Linked DNA regions of Homo sapiens: regions 1, 3 and 4 are each linked to region 2. Evidence: promoter capture Hi-C in 16 types of primary human blood cells and fetal thymus (Javierre and others, 2016). All regions are on one chromosome and are shown on one strand. Each heading gives the region's core, a stretch centred on a gene start or on the middle of the fragment in contact. The rest is flanking DNA. Distances are from core to core; before and after follow the strand shown. Region 1 overlaps HEMK1 (HemK methyltransferase 1, mitochondrial release factors N(5)-glutamine). Region 2 holds the start of MANF (mesencephalic astrocyte derived neurotrophic factor). Region 3 overlaps LOC105377083 (a long non-coding RNA gene). Region 4 overlaps MAPKAPK3 (MAPK activated protein kinase 3).

Region 1 (4,185 bases), core at 1,031-3,530, 800 kb after region 2:
AGTTTACCTGAAAAATCCAGGATACTCCTTCCATCTCAAGATCCTTAATCACATCTGCAAAGTCCATTTTGCTATGTGAAGGTAATATAGTCACATGTTAAGGTTTAGGTGATTAAGACACTGCCATTTTGGGGGGTCACTGTTCAGCCTACCAGAGCAGGGGTAGAGTTGCTTTGACAGTCCCAAATCCAGTTCAGGGGGCTTGTCCAGGGCAGAAGGTCATGAGGAGGAGATCAGGTCACTGTCCTAGCCAGGACTCTGGCTGGGGGCTGGCTGAAGCCAAGAGCTCCAGGAAACCTGGCGCCTGCTCCTACTGCCGCCAAGGACAGCCTGTTCTCCTGGTGTGGCTGTTGCGCAGGGATCAGGTGCACTTGAGTCTTCGAAGTGGCCATTGCTCAACTTGAATGGCTGCCTGGGTCGGGCAGAAGGCCAGGTCCTCATGGCTTCCCATCCCTAATGACCGGAATACATGGGCTGCCAGGTCAGATGTGGGCCACATGGGAAGTCCCAGCTCTATTCTAGAAAATGCATGTACCATCAGCTTACTGATAGACATTTACTGAACTTGGGTATGCCAGATCCACAGGGGGCCCCAGAGATGAGGGGGATAAGAAGGTTTCTGAAGGCATGGTACAGAAGGTGCCAGCAGAGGTATGGGCTAGGGGAGGCAGGGAGAGCACAGAGCAGGCATCCTAAAGGAGGCAGCATTTGTGTTGGAGCTTGAAGAAGTGGATTGTTTGCACCGCCTGGGCAAAGGGAAGGTGTGTGTTCAGGGCATCGAGAGTACTGCACAAAGGCTGAAGCCCAGGGCAGTAGAGAAGAGAATCCACTAAGAAGGAGCCAATGAAGAAAAAAAAGAGAAAAGAATCGAAGGTGGATAGGGAAAGACATGCTGTCCCGCAGAGGTTAAAGGGGTTCTCACCTCAAGCCAGCAGTTCTCAAACCTTGTCAGCAGTGGAGCCCTTTGTTCTGATGACAGCCTACTCAGAGCACTGATGGGGCCTTGGGAGGGGCCCCCAGGGCTTTTCCCACAGTTGTCCTCCCCCACCTCTTCAGAACTGGATTCCATAGGACACAAGAGAACACACTTAAGTCATGGGGAGCCAGCTAAGTGTTTGGGGCAAGGATTGGGAGCAGCCAATAGCCCAGGGTCCAGGTGGGGGTAAAGGAGCAAAAAAGAGTATTTTTTGCATTTAGGGGGTTCGGGGCCTATTTCAATAAGGCAGCTGTATGAGACCCATGGAGAAACCCACTGACAACTGGGAAAAGCATCCAACTGTGAGACAAGGCCTCAGTTTCCCCAACTATCAGAAGAGGAGATAGAATTACTCTCCCAGAGTACATCAAACAGGGACTCCTACACTCCTGTCTATGCTCTGGGCTCTGGCTGAAGGAGGCTGCACGGGCAGTGGGCACATCTCTCAAGACCTCAGGGGCTTGCACAGCCTGGACTCCATCAGCTCCATGTCCTCCTCCCATTCTGCCTGCAAGTGCTCCTTGACATATGCTGGTGGTGGTGGGGAGGCTGTTCGAGTCTCTGGCTTTGGCCTCAGGAGCAAGGGAGGGGATAGGGCAGGTGGGCCTGGCTTTCCCTGAGCTAGAGCCACTGGCTGCCCTGGCCTGGGCCTCAAGGCACTGGGGCCATAGTGAGGAGAGGCTGAGGGGAGATGTAGGCTGCCAGGCTACCAGCCTGCTGGCTCCATCTCTAGACAACAGTGAGGAGTCAAGAGCCCAAGACTGAAACTCCTGCCTTCCCTTCTTTCCAGACTGCCTTGTATCCCTGCCTGCCTTATGTTGGTCCCATGCATCAGATGGACGCCTGAGGGCACTGGGTCCTTCCTCCCTGTGTCTGCCCTCCGAGGAAGGCAAGGAAAAATGCCACAATGTGCCAAGCCAGGCACATCCCATGGGCTCCTCACATGCATCCTATAAAATAAAGCATTAAGTCCCATTTCTCAGCCTTAGAAGCCAAGGCTGAGTGAGGTGAAGTCATCTGCCCAAGGTCACATCCTCGTGAGGGGCAGATTCTGGGATTGAAATCCAGGCTGGTGTGGCTCCAACATCTGGGCTCAACGTCCAGGGCCCAATCAAGCCAGTGGCTGCAGGCTTGAGGCCCCGCCTGCCAGTCCTCTTGGCTTGGACCTTTTCCTCAGCAGAGTCAAGCTGCACATTTTTCTGGGCAGAAAGTTGTGCCCGAGGCCGGCTCCTGCTTGTGGCCCCAGCTGCCCCGACAGTGTCACTCTCCAACACTGCACTCTCTTCTGGTGCAACATCCACAAGCTCGCCAAGGCCCTTCCTCAGGAATGGGCCTGAGGCCAGGAGGGAGAGACCATCAGGGAAGCCAGGACTGGCTGAGGTGTAGGGGGGCGACAGACTGCTCCGAGGTCAGGGCAGCTACCCTGAGATGCTGCTGAAGACAGCAAGAGCCAAAGGGCACAAGGAGAAAGACAGAAAGGGCAATACTGGTGAGGACCTTAGCAGGCAAAGGTCTGTGAGCATGGGGGACTAAGGAAGTGGGGAGCCTTGCCCTGGTTGTGCACCCCCTTCGCCCTCCCCACCCAGGTTCCTTCTGGAGCAGCCTCCTTAAAGGAAGCCAGGGGCAGCTCAGAGTCCATGCAGCTGGGGCTGGGCACAGGGCAGGACACTGGGGCACTGGGAGCTGCAGTGTGACCTCTACCAAATGTGTCCTCCAGCCATAGTGCAGGGCAACACTTAGGCTGGGTATGACTCCAGCAATATAGGCTCCCCAAAGGGAGGGATCTAACTTACTGTCTCCACTTGGTCACTGTCATGTGACCTCAGGCAGTACATACCTTCTCTTGCTCTCCATGCCTGGCGAATGGACATTCAGATGCCAGCATGCACATTCCACTTGACTAAGAGTAAAGAGGTTGCCAGTTGGCGTTGGCCCTGGACTCAGAAGAGCCAGCTTCTCATAGGGAAAGGAGTTGCCCAAGGTCCCACTGCAGGACACAGCCCTGGAACTCAGCTCTCCCAGCTGCAGCAGAGGATGCTGCCTATTGGACCATACTGCCCATCAGACCATACTGCCAGGCCCTGGGAAGTGCCAGGGTGGCAGGGGGCAGTCTAGTGGAATGAGACAGCCTGGTTTGCCATGTTTCTTAGGACCCACCCTGATGTAGGCTCACATCACCAGCACTCACCAACCTAGAGATTTCCTGTCGCTGTTGACAGGAAGGCTGGATCTGCAGGCCTCCTGGTGGCCATGAGTCTGCACAGACCAGAGCTGGGGTGGAGGCCACAACCCTGTGCCCAGTATCTCAGCTTCTCACTCTCCCCAGCCCCAACCAGGGACACATGGGTTATTTGAAACCCCAGGGGGTCAACTCGGGAGGGATGTTTTAGCTAAAAGCTATGGGGATAAAAAGGAAACACCCCTCACTGGCTCAAGCCTTCAGTTAAATGAACGTGGATGTGCGACCCAGGAACTGTGCAGCAAAGACCTCCAGACCCTCCCCTCCAGAAAGCAGGCAGTCATCCTTGAGCCAAAACGCAGATGAGCTTCCTGTGCTCGAGCCAGGCTTGGCCAGGGAATTGTGTACGCATGCACCCAGGGCAGTGGAGGACTAATCAATCCCTGGGAGTGAGCTGCTCTATGCCAGGACCCATGGTATCCAAGGCCAGGAGTGAGGACTCACGTGCCTTCCTCCACACTGCACCCCCACACCACTACCAAGCAGGGGACTGACGGCCAGCCCTGCTGGGGCAGAAGGAAACCCTTGCCCCAGTGCTACCTGGGAGTAAGGGGGTCAGGGGACCTGCAAGTCATGGACAAAACATTAGGTCACCATTTGTTAGTCTCTCAATACTTTACTGGCCATATCCCCCGATACCCCCACAGCAATTTCACCAACACAGAGCAACTGCCCTCAGCCACTCTGATGTGATGGAGCCAATCCAGGTGTCCTAGAAATATCCTAGAAATGCAGAGCATGGGGAAATCACAGAACCCTGGGAAATGCCATAAGAACCTGGGCTCTGGAAAGTGCCATCCACCTCCCCTCTGGTCAGGCTGGCGGCACTGACAAGGCATCCACAGGGCAGCCATGCTATGGCCCAGACCTCCGGATATGCAGGAACCGGGGCCTGAGGAGACAGGGACAGGGGCTGGTTACCACCTGGGCCTCAGGGAATGAACAGGAAGTGGGAACAGCACACTCTCCT
Region 2 (4,121 bases), core at 1,374-3,873:
ACAGCATTCATTAAGAAAGGACTAGGCATACTCACCATACTTAAGCTCACATATCTGGCTGTCCTTCTTCTTAAGCTTCTCACAGATCTTCTCCACAGGGATGTGGTGGGCCAGAGGCTTTGATACCTCATTGATGATTTTGGTGGCTGCATCATCTGTGGCCCCGATATAGTAGCACTGGAGCAATAAAGGACAATGGCCTTCAGGAGGTGCTTGAGAGCCATCTCCTCCAAACATACTGACACCTTGAAACATCATCTCTCTGTAGGGCCTTACTTGTGTTTTGAGATAGGGCTCCCTGTCACCCAGGCTGGAATGCAGTGGCATGATCACGGCTCCCTGCAGCTTCAATCTGTTGGGTGGTGATCCTCCCCTCTCAGCCACCCTAGTAGCTGGGTCTACCGGTGTGGGCCACCACACCCAGCTAACTAAAACAATTTTTTTTTTTTTTTGAGATAAAGTTTTGCTCTGTCACCCAGGCTGGAGTGCAGTGGCGCAATCTTGGCTCGGCTCACTGCAACCTCCGCCTCCCAGGTTCAAGCAATTCTCCCTGCCTCAGCCTCCTGAGCAGCTGGGATTACAGGCGCCTGTCACCATGCCTGGCTAATTTTTGTATTTTTTAGTAGAGATAGAGTTTTGCCATGTTGGCCAGGCTGGTCTTGAACTCCTGACCTCAGGTGATCCACCCACCTCGGTCTCCCAAAGTGCTGAGATTACAGGTGTGAGCCACCACGCCTAGCCTAAAAATTTTTTTGTGCAGACAGGATTTCACCACTTTGCCCAGGCTGATCTCAAACTCCTAAGTTCAAGCAATCCTCCCACCTTGGCCTCCCAAAGTGCTAGGAAGACAGGCATGAGCCACCGCACCTGGCCCACAGCGGCATTTTTCGGTGCCCTGCCTGTACTGGTAGTCAGATTCAGCCAGTGTAAACCCTGGACTCTTAACACATGCTCAGTCCAAGCTGACAGCCACCAAATGAATTTAAGTGTCACCAGGGTTCAAACCTTTAACAGAGAGAAAAGCCAGAGACTGTCAGAGAAATTCAAGTTAGAAAACCCATTGCTTCACTAGGGCTTTTGTCTTGGATTCGGCCCTTGCCTATCCTGTAGGCACCCTGTCACCTTCTCCTGTCCACATACATGCCACACTCTTTCAGGCCTCTGGGCACTCACACTGCTGTTCCCTGTATGGGATGGTCTTACCCCACTTCAATGATAACCCTTCCTCAGAGACTTCTTGGCCACTCTAAATCAGCACCTGCTGGTCCATTTTCTTCATGACACCCAGACATTGCATTATTTGTGTGTCCGACTGTCACTTCTTTCCCCTGATATTCCCAGTGCCTAGCACATAGTAGGTGCTTAATAAAGACTAACAGGATAAAAAAAAATCACAGTTGCAGAACACATGCTGCTTTGGGAAGGACATAGAAGCACTTCAGTCTTCTCACATTAGTTTATGGAGAGAGTAGCTGGCTTCCTGAACAGAGAGGTGGGCAAGGCCTTTTATCAAACGGCTGGTGAAGCCGAGGGTTAACATGAGCCAGGGCCAGTTGGGGAGGATCACCAGCTACTTACCAACCGATTCTCTTTGCCTCTTGCTTCCCGGCAGAACTTTATAAGTTCGTTTTCAATAGTGGCTGGTGAGAATGTGACATCTCTGTCTTTGAGGTCCTGGTAAAATCTTCCCAGATAAGAAATACAAACTGGAAAAGAGAGGGACGGGAGATGCTCAGCAATCACCAAGCTGTTCCAATCCACCAGAAAAGAACTCCGCCAGCAATTTTAATAGGAGACACGGAGATGAATCATTAGAGGTGAGCTTTTCCATCACCGATTTTTCTCAGGTGTCTACAGGTAGACAGAACCCGGTTCCAAGTGGCGGGGGTCCCCTGGTACACCCAGGGCATCAAAGGACCAAGCATCACCCAATGACCTATAAACGACTTCTCCCTGCTCCTTTCATCAAGTTTAAGCCCATGGTGAACACGTGTCCTTGAGACGGGACTCACTGTGACCTCATAAATGGAGAGACTGGAAGGTGAAGAGAAAAATGATCAAAATGCTGCTGCTAATTTCCAAATACAACAGCGGACCCAGAGGTGCAGCTTCGTGATCCCAACAGACAGGGCGCAGCACCCACGGCCAGCCCTGGAGCTCCCGACGCCGAACGGGGAGCGGTAACCTCTAGATGGTGGTGGGGACAATAACTCAGGAGTGATGGAGATTTCAGGACAAGTTTTCAACGGGATCTAGTCTCAACTTTTCTTCGTCGGACCAATGTTTTCTAGGCCCAAGAAAGATTTACTAGGGCGGGCGCCGGAGCCTCCTCATGCAGGCCCCGCGGGGACCTGCTGTCGCCCCCGCCCCCGCCCCCGCCCTCGCCCTCTTGGCCCCGGCCGTCTGGTGATGTTGTGGGGTTCAGCGCCGCCGCCAGAACGGTCACGGAGCGCGGCCCCCGGCCCCCTATCCCGCACCTTCGCAGTCGCCCGGCCGCAGCGCCCGGCTGCCCGGCAGCACGCTCAGAGCCAGCGCCACCGCCAGCCCCTGCGTGGCCCACATCCTCCTCATCCTCCTCATCCTCCTCCTCCTCCTCCTCCTCCGCTGCCGCCGCCGACCGACTGAACCGCACCCGCCGCGCCGCACCGCCTCCAAGTCCCGGCCGCGCGCCGTAGCTCCCCATTGGCGGGGGGCCCCCCGGCGCCCTCCCACATGCCACTTCCCCATTGGTCCAGGAGCCGCGAGCCCAGACGGGCGGCTCCACGCTGCCCTCCCTCATTGGCTGGTGGTGTCTGAGCCCTAGACAGTTGTCGGCCGCTGATTGAACCCGGGCTGGCCGCAGGAAGCGACTACAGCAGCGACGGAAGCGGTGTGGGCCGCCATCTTGGGTAAGGGCAGCGACTGTGGCTGAGGCTGGGTACTGCTAGCTGAATGGGGTTCGGCCACGCCTTACATCTGTTGAGTTGACCCGCGTACCCCTGCCCTGGGCCCCAGGCTCCCTCGAAAACCCCTGCTGATCTCCTCGCCCGGACTCCGACTCGTGGTGCAGGAGTTCTGGGGTCAGCCAAGACAACAGGTTAGGCAGGAAGGGCGGGCGGCCGCAGGCAAGGCTCAAAGAGGTTTCTTTTTTCTTCTTTCATTCGCGTGGGCAACGGATCCAACCTTTGAAAGCCCACCTGCTGATCCTCCACCTGACCGGAGCCCGCCGTGCATAGGCTGATAGGAGACGTGCGGGGTGGACGGACTGCGGGACATCTGAAGGAAGGGCTCAAGGCGCGCCAAGCTCAAAGCTGGGCCGCCACTCTAGACCGTGGAGGGAAGCGCCCGGGCCAGATCATCGGTCGAGGACATGGGGTCGCCTCAGAGTGGGAAGGTGAGGGGCTCGGGAGGTGCCCTTACAAGCTCTGAATCGTGGCTTGGTGGCTGGCCAGCCTCCTCCTGCCTCCCCGGCTAGGCCCTCGGGGTCCCCCGCTGCCGTGGGACCTCCTGAGTGGGGTCCCGGGAATCACCAGAGAAGCACTGGAGGATGTTTCCTTTTCGACTGCCCTCCTTTCAAGTGCCCTCCTGGCTGCCTGCCTTCAAGGCAGGATGCGGGAACCGTTGGCTCTACTCAGTGCAAAAAGGACATGTCTATAGGGCTAAAAAGGGCTTGGAGCCCGGCGACAAGGGTTGGAGAGGGGCACATCCTCTGCTCCCATTCAGTGAATTCAGTGGATCAGTATCACGTATTTATCTTTAATTCACATCACAGCAGTCAAGGAAGTGGGGAAAGGGGGAAAAAAAATCAAGTGGCAGATATTTACATCTAAAATTCACATTACTTGTTGGATTTTGAACATGCTACCACAATATATACAGTAAAATACCTCTTGGGACAATGGTACAAATTTTGTTTCCTTTAACTTTGCTTTTCTGGTACAGGTAAGATCATTTTTAAATCACTTTTTTTCTTTAAACATGAATACACAAAAGAAATGGTTAGAAGTTTCCTTGTTTTAAATAAGCACAGAATGCGGGAGGTTAAAAACACATTTATAGTGCTGAATACCAATTGGACATCACACTCTATACATTTTTTGCTCAAATTCCTGTACAAATACACAGCATTCAAATAGGTATTT
Region 3 (4,092 bases), core at 644-3,143, 850 kb after region 2:
CCCTCCCTCCAGCCTCCCCGCAGGTCAGGTTGGTATGTCCTCTCCCCCCTCCCCACCCCCGTCTCCCGGGCTCCTCCGCTCCCTCTTCCTCTCCTCTCTTCACCTTCCTCCTCCTTTCCCTCTCCTCCTCCCCACTCCCAGTCAGCCTGCCCTCCTATCTGCCTGTCTCCCTCTTTTCTTCCTCCCCCTGCTTCCCCTGCTTCTTTCCCTTTCCTGCCTTTCCTTCCTTCATCCTCTCCTCCCCCGTCCTCCCTAGGGGAGAGGAGGGATTTGCAGGGTCGGGGGCAGCCACTGCACTCAGTTACCCCAGGTCAGCCTAAGAGGCCCCAGCACAGAGACCCCTTTGGCTGCTTTCTTCTAAACCGGAATCTAATTGTGATCAAGTGAGGGAGAAACAGCTAATTACACCCAACAAACAGAGGCCCCCTGGGCTGTTTTATGGTGGAGATGAGAAGGTATAGGAAGGGGCACGTTTACCTTGCAAATGTGGGCTGGGACCCAAAGGGTTTGTGTCTGGCCTGGCAGCCTGAATGAGCTCCCTGGGAGCTGGAGCCCTCAGGAAGGCTTCAGGAGGAAGCTTTGTCTTCCAGGTCAGGAGAGGAAAAGGAACATCTTCCCTCACCCATCACAAGGGTCGTGACTGACACCCTTATAACAAAAGACAGATTGACAGAAAAGCAGAACACATTGATTTCACCAAAGTTTTAATGACTGGGGAGCCTGAGGAAATGAAGATCCAAGGACCTGGGAAAACAGAATATTTTTATGCTAAGTCTGATGAAAGAAGTTGTGGAGAAATGCTTAAAGCAAAAGGGCATGGCCTAATGCTAATAAGCTGGGAGCAGGGCTTCAGCAAGACCCATTTGTTCAGGTTTCTTACTGGGTCTCTCCATGATAGAGGTGCTCTCGCCCCTGCCCAGGGGCAGAACCCCTGTCTCAGGAGGACCTTTACAAGAGAAGGGAGGAAGTCAGAAAGTGACCTTTCTAGGTTTTATGGTTTGCTTGGCTAGGAGAGGGGTTCTAGTTCCTATGACCACTTTCGGGGAGAAAAGGGAGTGGAAAAAAAGGAGGGCTGGAGAAGGGCAGAGTGACCTGCAAGGTGCCGTATTCTGGAGTCATGTTTCTTTCTTTCTTTTTTTTTTTCTTCTTTTTTGAGACGGAGTTTCGCTCTTGTCCAGGCTGGAGTGCAATGGCGCGATCTCAGCTCACCGCAACCTCCCTCTCCTGGGTTCAAGCGATTCTCCTGCCTCAGCCTCCTGAGTAGCTGGGATTACAGGCATGCGCCACCACACCCGGCTAATTTTGTTTTTTTAGTAGAGACGGGGTTTCTTCATGTTGGCCAGGCTGGTCTCCAACTCCTGACCTCAGGTGATCCACCCACCTCAGCCTCCCAAAGTGCTGGGATTACAGGCGTGAGTCACCACGTCTGGCTGGAGTCGTATTGCTTGAGCCCCAACAATACCATGCACCGAATACCACATACCGCACACCGTGGAGCGTCCCAGTGCTGGGGGCTACCACGCAGCTTTCTTTCTTGGCCTCAGGTCTTCAATCCTCCCATCTGTACCAGGGTGTGGAGTGCAGACCCAGCCCAGTTGGTGACCTGACCAAGATCCATTCCTGCCACAGCTACTTTCTACCTGTGAGCTCCCCAGTAAGTCACTTAAACTCCCAAAGCCTTACTTTCCTCATCTGCTCAATGGGGTCATGGGGCATGCCTCTGCCACAGGGCATGTGAAGACTTCAGCAGTGGCCTGGTATACCAGACATTGCCCATAGGAGCCAGGACCAGAGAGTATCACTGTTGAAAGCAGCAAGATGAACCTAGGTTAGCAGTGAGCAGAAAGGACAATGACACTCCACCCCCCGGAAAAAGAGATGCAGTTTGGTTTTACCCCTGACCTTGCAAACACAGACAGGGAAACTGAAGAGGCTCCAGCAGGCTGGGTGTGACTTGGGAGGTGTGCTCCCTGAGGAGCTCATTCCTTGTGTTCAAGAGGAGGGAGAAATGGGGGCTGTGTGGGCAGGAGACAGAATGACTGGAAGGACTGTGATAACAACCAACTTCAACCGTGGTGTGAAAGCTCCAGCACATAATAGGTACTCAGCAAGGGCTCACTGTCCTGAGTTCTGCCTCCTCCAGGAGGTGCCTTCCCTGTGCCCCACCTCTTCTCCAGTTCCTGGGATCAGCTCAGGGCAGGTGAGAGTCCAGGTGCTGCCTGGCACAGGGTGTCAGAGGAGGGGAGATGATGTGTGAGTGGGAGACCTGCTCAGAGTGTCTGCCCCAGGGGCTCCCCCGGGGTGACTGACACCCCCACAGACACACAGACTGATGGGTAGAGATGGAGAGCCTCCACTTCTCTGGCCAGGCCTGCAGCTGGCCAGCTCCTACCCCTCCAGCCCTGTCCCGAAGGTGCCTCAGCCTCTGCTGTGTCCAGGGATATCTCAGAGAGGTGTGGCTGGAGTGGTCTGTTGAGGTTTGATCATGGAGGCCTTGAATGCCAGGCCCAGGACAGGATAGTAATAACAGCTGTTGGCTGCAGCTGGAAGCACAGTCAGCCAGTATAGATGTGTGTGTGGGAGATGGTGACGTGTGTGTGTGTGTGTGTGCCTGTGTGCACCCATGGCTGGCCACGTGGGATGTGGGGTGTGACTGTGCTAGGGTGTTACCCATGTGGAAACACAAGGGTGTGTGTGTGTGTGTGTATGCATGTGTGGGTGGGTGCATGCACTCCTCTTCTGCTGCCCTGGCATCCCAGGGAAGCACACCCACACTGCTGCACTCCCAGGTGCACAGGCAGGTGCCCACTGAAGGTCTGAGCCATCCCAGCTCTCTACCTGCCCACCAGCTCACCCACCTCTGCCAATAGGCCATGCAGGCAATGAACACATCAGGTAATTAAGCAGGAGATCAATTCAACTTAAGTTGGAGGAAAGCAGCCGTGCCTAGTGGAGAGGAGAGACAGGGCTGCAGGAGGCTGAGGCTGAGCAGGGAGTGGGTGGGGAACTGGCAGGGAAAGATGGGAGGGGGTGGCTGCTGGAGTGGGATGTGCCATGCACCCTGCGGAGGGGAGCAGAAGCCAAAAGGAGAGGAAAGGAACTACGAGGACCAAGGCCACTGACCAAGGGGGCAAGGAGGGGACTGGCTGGTGGCAGAGAGAATGGGAAAGATGTAAGGAAGAACCAAGGCCAGCAACAGGACAAGCTTGTGTCTCCTCAGCTTCCCAGGGGTTCTCTCCTGGTGGGGCAGGGGCCAGCGGTCAGGATGGGTCTATCACCCAGCTTCCCAGATGGCTCACAACCTCTTCTGTGGTCCTGCTAGCCCCGAGCATGTGCACAGAACTTGACCCTGTGGGCTCTGCTGGGGGTGCCGAGGAGGATCTTTGACCATGCCCCATTGTTCACCAGCAGAACTGGCCCCAGATGTGAAGGCCCCGTCACTGGAAGGTCATCCATTCATTCAATGAACACGCACCGAGAGCTGCTGAGCACCAGCTCAGGGTCTGACATGGGCCGACTCCAGGAGGAATCACACGCTGGCCGCCCTCGAGGGGGCACAGCCTCCCTGGGGAGAACATGCAAACACAGACAGATATCCTACAGCAGAGGAGGGGACAGTGGGGGACCACAGAAGGCTTCTCTGTGACCCCTGAGCTATGGCTTAAAGAATAAGGGCAGCTAACCTGGGAAGCAGGAGAGCTTGGAGCAGAAGGCCAGGGAGAAAAGGTACTCAGGCCCTGGGGAGGGCAACAGCATAGGCAGAGAACCTACGAGAATATCCCCCAGAGATGGCACCTTGTCTGTGGGGACAAGAGAGGCCAGTGTCCATAGGTCCACCAGGGCCTTGGGAGCAGGGGTGGGCTGGGCAGGGGCTAGCATAAGGCAGCTTCAGCACTGAGGAGGTAGAGAACAGAGCGGACACCACAGGAGTTTAGGCAAGAGGGATACATGGACAGGCAGAGCTGGAGACCACACCAGGAATGGGGGTGGTTTGGGCCAGGGGCAGATGACACAGAGATATGGGAGATGGAGGGTTGGTACAGTGAAGACAGCATGAGGGCAGAGCACAGGGCGCCTTGGCATGAACGTGGA
Region 4 (3,995 bases), core at 1-2,500, 740 kb after region 2:
GAGATAATGGGGCAATCTTTCCATCTGCTCTTCTGCTAACTGCTTCTAGGGCACCCCTCCCCACCTAGTTACAGGAGGGGCCCTACCCTCTCCCCAACAACAGCAAGGGGCCAAATGTGACCAACAAGAACCCTCCCCTGAAACTGACATGTGGACACCTGAGCAGATGACCTCCCCAGCTAGAACTTCTGCAGCTCTAGTTTTGCCAGAGCTATGGAGAAGGCAAAAAAAAAAACCCAGTGCAGGCAAAGGATCAAGGACAGCCCCAGGAAGAAGCACAGACTGGCAGAGCAGAGTGGCAGACGGGAGTCCTAGAGCAGGGAGACCCTCTGTCCCTGAGGCCCTGGTCCCTGCACTTCTGCCTGCAACCCTGTATCCTATCAGGCACCTTTCCCAGCACTGGGATGCATATATTCTCTCTTTGGCTCAAACTGTCCCATGACACCTCCTTCTCCTGGAACCATGTTCTTCCATCACAGATCATATCAAGACCTTGATTAAACTTTTTTTTTTTTTTTGAGATGGACTTTTGCTCTGTCGCCAGGCTGGAGTGCAGTGGCGTAATCTCGGCTCACTGCAACCTCCGCCTCCCAGGTTCAAGTGATTCTCATGCCTCAGCCTCGCGAGTAGCTGGGATTACAGGCACCTGCCACAACGCCCAGCTAACTTTTTATATTTTAGTGGAGATGGGGTTTCACCATGTTGGCCAGGATGGTCTTGATCTCCTGACTCTGTGATCTGCCCGCCTCGGCCTCCCAAAGTGCTGGGATTACAGGCGTGAGTCACCACGCCCGGCCAATTTAACATTTTTCAACATGTGATGTTTTCACCTTCTCCCGCATGAATGTAAACACCTTGAGGTGAACTCCCTGTCTGAAGTTCTCACTGCAGCCTTCCTTGCACCCAGCACAGCATCTCAGGTACACTGGATGCTTGGCAGCCAAGCAAGGAAGGCCATCTGTGCCTCCACAGCTTTGAGACTAGATGGACTACATCTACCTTTGCATCTGGCCAGCATTCCTCCAAATGTAGGGTATACTAGGAAGGCTGGGCTGAACCACAGGCTCCATGGAGTCTCTTGAATTTATCTGGCTACCCTCCTGGAAGCCCAGTACTGGAAACAAAGCCCAGGAGGCCCACATGATGCTGCTCTGGGGAGCAGGCCCTTGGAAATGAAACCCCATGGGTGAGGAAGCCCTGATTGTCTGGATAGAAAGTTCCTGAGGTAGATTTGGGGTTGCTTTTTCTTCTAGAGACTTCTAGATACTCTAGATATTCTCTCCTTCCTGAGGCAGACTTGGGGCTGCTTTTTCTTCTAGAGACTTCTAGATACTCTAGATATAACTCTAGATACTTCTCTCCTTCCTGATGACTAAGGATGTTAGAGTAGCTAATGAGTGTGGGGCATGAGCCACGCACCTGGCACCTCACTAAGTACTTCACACACATCATCTGCTCAAATCCCCCACATGACTCCATGAGATGGGCATTATCATCGCCAGGACACAGCTGAGGAAACTGAGGCCAAGAAAGCTCCCAAGGTCACCAGGCTGGGAAGCAGCAGAACATCTCAGGCGTGTTTGCCTGTCCCCTGCCTTCCAGCATCTCTGCACCCTCCCCCACGCCCTGAAGGAAGTGGGGGTGGAGGAGAGAGCGCTGCAGGCAGCAGATGAGCTCTTGGAAAACTGGGAGGTTTCTCAAGATAGGAGCTGGGAGAGAAATGCCACAGTTAGGGCCCTCCTTGAAGCTACCCACAAGGGCTCCGGAGGGGTGAGAGTGCTCTCTTACTGGAGTAGTCAAAAGACAGTCTTGCAGCATGCCGCCCCCTCCCCTCCTCGATATTCTCACTGCCAAATGAAATCTGGCAGTTTCTGAAAATAGCTCAGCGCTGCAGCAGGCACTCTGCCCGCCCTTCAGCAGGCTGGCACACAGCTGGGGGTGGCCACTCTGGGCAGATGCTGGCACACACAGGACCGGGGGTAGGTGTCACACACACTGCACAGGGGCAGCACAGAGCTGGGGGCATGTGGCAGCTGCCATCCCTCAGCTCTTCTGACCTTTCTAGGCCTGGCGAGGACTCTGGCCTTGGAGTTAGCATGGCATGCTTATCAGGCCTGAGGCACCCCCTCCAGCTGGGGTGAAATCACTAGTGGGTCTGAGAAGCTGCCCTTGGGCCACCTTTGTCCACCCCTGTAGACAAAGAGTAAACCCAGGAGCCAAGAGAAAATGATGAAATGGTGTTTATTACTATCTGGATGTAAAACCCAGCAGTGTTGTCCTATCTGACATGGTCTAGGGTTTCCCAGCCAGTGAGAGAGGGGCCAGGAAGGAACTAGGCTGCGTGTCAGGCACTTGTCAGGCAGTATCAGGCACTCAGCACCCTAAGGCTACCATGGTGGGGTGGGGCTGGTAAGCTCTGATCAGCCAGGAAAGGCCCTCTCTGCCCTACTCAGGCCCAAGCCAGGACCAGACATTCTGAGCATGGCTCAGTCGCCTTCCCCAACCTCAGGTCTGACCCAGAGTAAAGAAAGAGACCTCAGGTTAATGGGAAGCCACTTAGCTCTGCTCCCAACCAGCCACTTTCACACAAGTATACCAAAAGATAGCCCCTGACTTCAACAGAGAGGGGCTTTCCTGCCTGAGATCTGGTGAGCAGATGGGTGCAGGGAAAGTATGCTGGCTTTTGTCACAGTGACATTTTCCAAAGTGGAAAAAAGTTAAAAATATCTCCCACCTTAAGTTCAGATGAAAAGTCACCCTTTGGGTCGGGAATAGTGAGGGGATGGCTAGGCCCAGGGACTCCCTCAGGGGAGAGCGCTGAGTGCCATCTGGGCTGGGGCTGCAGCAAGGCAGGGCTGGACTGCACAGGGAGGCAGGCAGACCGGATCCAGCAGCCTCAGGGCCCAAGGAGGAGTGAGAATGAGAGGGCCAGCCAGTGTGTGAGAAATCAGCCTCCCCAAGGCAGAGGTGAACCCTCAATCGCCCCTCCTCCCTTACTCGCTCACTCAGCATTCACAGGCAGCAACGTGGTCCCTGGTCACCATGGCAACCAATGGCCAATGCCTTTCTCAAGGCCAGGCCCATCTGCCCATCCCACAGGGAGATGTCTCTGTGGAAGATGGGAAGCCCAGCCACAACTCCCAGTGGCCTAGAAAGCTAAGGCCATGCACCAGGGCAGGACAGCACAGAGGCCTCACTCGGGCCAACCTAGCTAAAGGTGCTGCTATGGCAGCAGGCAGCTCCCAGCCCCTAGGCCCTGCCCATCTCTAGGGCTTGAGCCTGGGCCAGAGATCTGAAGGAGGTTTAGGGTCAGGGTCCTCCATCCTGAAGTTCCGAGTGACAAATTAAAACACAACAAAATAATCCTTTTGTTAAAAGAATGACCCTGGGCCCTCCTGGCCAGGGCCTGAGCACATTTCAGTCTGTTATGCAGGCTGAGAGGCCAGGCTCCTCCAAGGCCCCATGAGCTACTGGTTGTTGCAGCCCTGTGAGGCAGAGGAGCTGCCTGCCTGCTTTTTTCTCCTCTTGTTGAGGAGCCGGTTGTTAGAGGTCTTCAGGTCCTTGATCTTCACCTGGTCGTAGTCTACCCGCATAGTGGCCAAGGCACTGGTCATCTCCTCCTGGGGACAGACAGGATGGTGGGCACTAAGAGGTCAGGATGTACTGACCTTAGGAACCATCACCCCCCTGCCTGGGCAGCCCCTTAATGTCAGTGACAGCCTGTGCTGCCTCTGTGCCCACTGTGTGCCCAGCACTGGGCCAAGCCCTTTGCATCACATGATCCTCACTACCGTCCTCTGTGGTAGACACTGAGCTTATTCACTAAGGCACAAAAGGAGAGTTACTCCCTCGGACCACACCAAGGGTAAGTGGGATAGTGAACTAAACCAGTTCCACCACAGAACCACAAGACCTGCAGAGAATGCCATCTCGCTGGGCAACCAGCGCACTGGGGCCTGGAGATTGTGCCACTGGAGCTGCTACTCCATATGTTC

Evidence for each region. The method cuts DNA at HindIII sites, captures the fragments that hold promoters and counts their contacts. A CHiCAGO score of 5 or more calls a contact.
Region 1: a contact is called between a fragment that was not itself captured here and the fragment with the promoter of MANF in region 2, in 17 of 17 cell types (M0 macrophages, endothelial precursors, megakaryocytes and 14 more). The highest score is 15.0, in M0 macrophages.
Region 3: a fragment that was not itself captured here is called in contact with the fragment with the promoter of MANF in region 2 in 1 of 17 cell types (neutrophils); the score reaches 5.2 in neutrophils.
Region 4: a fragment that was not itself captured here is called in contact with the fragment with the promoter of MANF in region 2 in 13 of 17 cell types (megakaryocytes, activated CD4 T cells, erythroblasts and 10 more); the score reaches 13.8 in megakaryocytes.

Annotation. Positions count from the first base shown.
Region 1 is chr3:50,580,303-50,584,487 of GRCh38, reverse strand. It overlaps HEMK1 (HemK methyltransferase 1, mitochondrial release factors N(5)-glutamine), which reads right to left. Exons shown (of 11, transcript NM_016173.5): 11 at 1-4,107. The coding sequence ends at 4,071. Among named protein-coding and RNA genes, the nearest start is that of HEMK1, 13 kb to the right of the region's middle. RefSeq lists enhancers at 1-338, 1,695-2,194, 2,195-2,696. The HindIII fragment of the contact is 8,059 bases long and covers 1-4,185 here.
Region 2 is chr3:51,383,793-51,387,913 of GRCh38, reverse strand. It overlaps MANF (mesencephalic astrocyte derived neurotrophic factor), which reads right to left and starts at 2,623. Exons shown (of 4, transcript NM_006010.6): 1 at 2,478-2,623; 2 at 1,579-1,706; 3 at 36-177. The coding sequence starts at 2,571. It overlaps DOCK3 (dedicator of cytokinesis 3), which reads right to left. Exons shown (of 53, transcript NM_004947.5): 53 at 3,716-4,121. RefSeq lists a silencer at 2,428-2,797 and an enhancer at 2,858-3,207. The HindIII fragment of the contact is 4,055 bases long and covers 78-4,121 here.
Region 3 is chr3:50,535,534-50,539,625 of GRCh38, reverse strand. It overlaps LOC105377083 (a long non-coding RNA gene), which reads left to right. Exons shown (of 3, transcript XR_940833.2): 1 at 1-28; 2 at 1,545-1,654; 3 at 3,412-4,092. Among named protein-coding and RNA genes, the nearest start is that of C3orf18, 30 kb to the left of the region's middle. RefSeq lists an enhancer at 1-172 and a silencer at 1,670-1,911. The HindIII fragment of the contact is 2,628 bases long and covers 580-3,207 here.
Region 4 is chr3:50,647,519-50,651,513 of GRCh38, reverse strand. It overlaps MAPKAPK3 (MAPK activated protein kinase 3), which reads right to left. Exons shown (of 11, transcript NM_001243925.2): 11 at 2,223-3,620. The coding sequence ends at 3,468. Among named protein-coding and RNA genes, the nearest start is that of LINC02019, 20 kb to the left of the region's middle. RefSeq lists enhancers at 1-436, 1,892-2,445, 3,937-3,995. The HindIII fragment of the contact is 5,654 bases long and covers 1-3,995 here.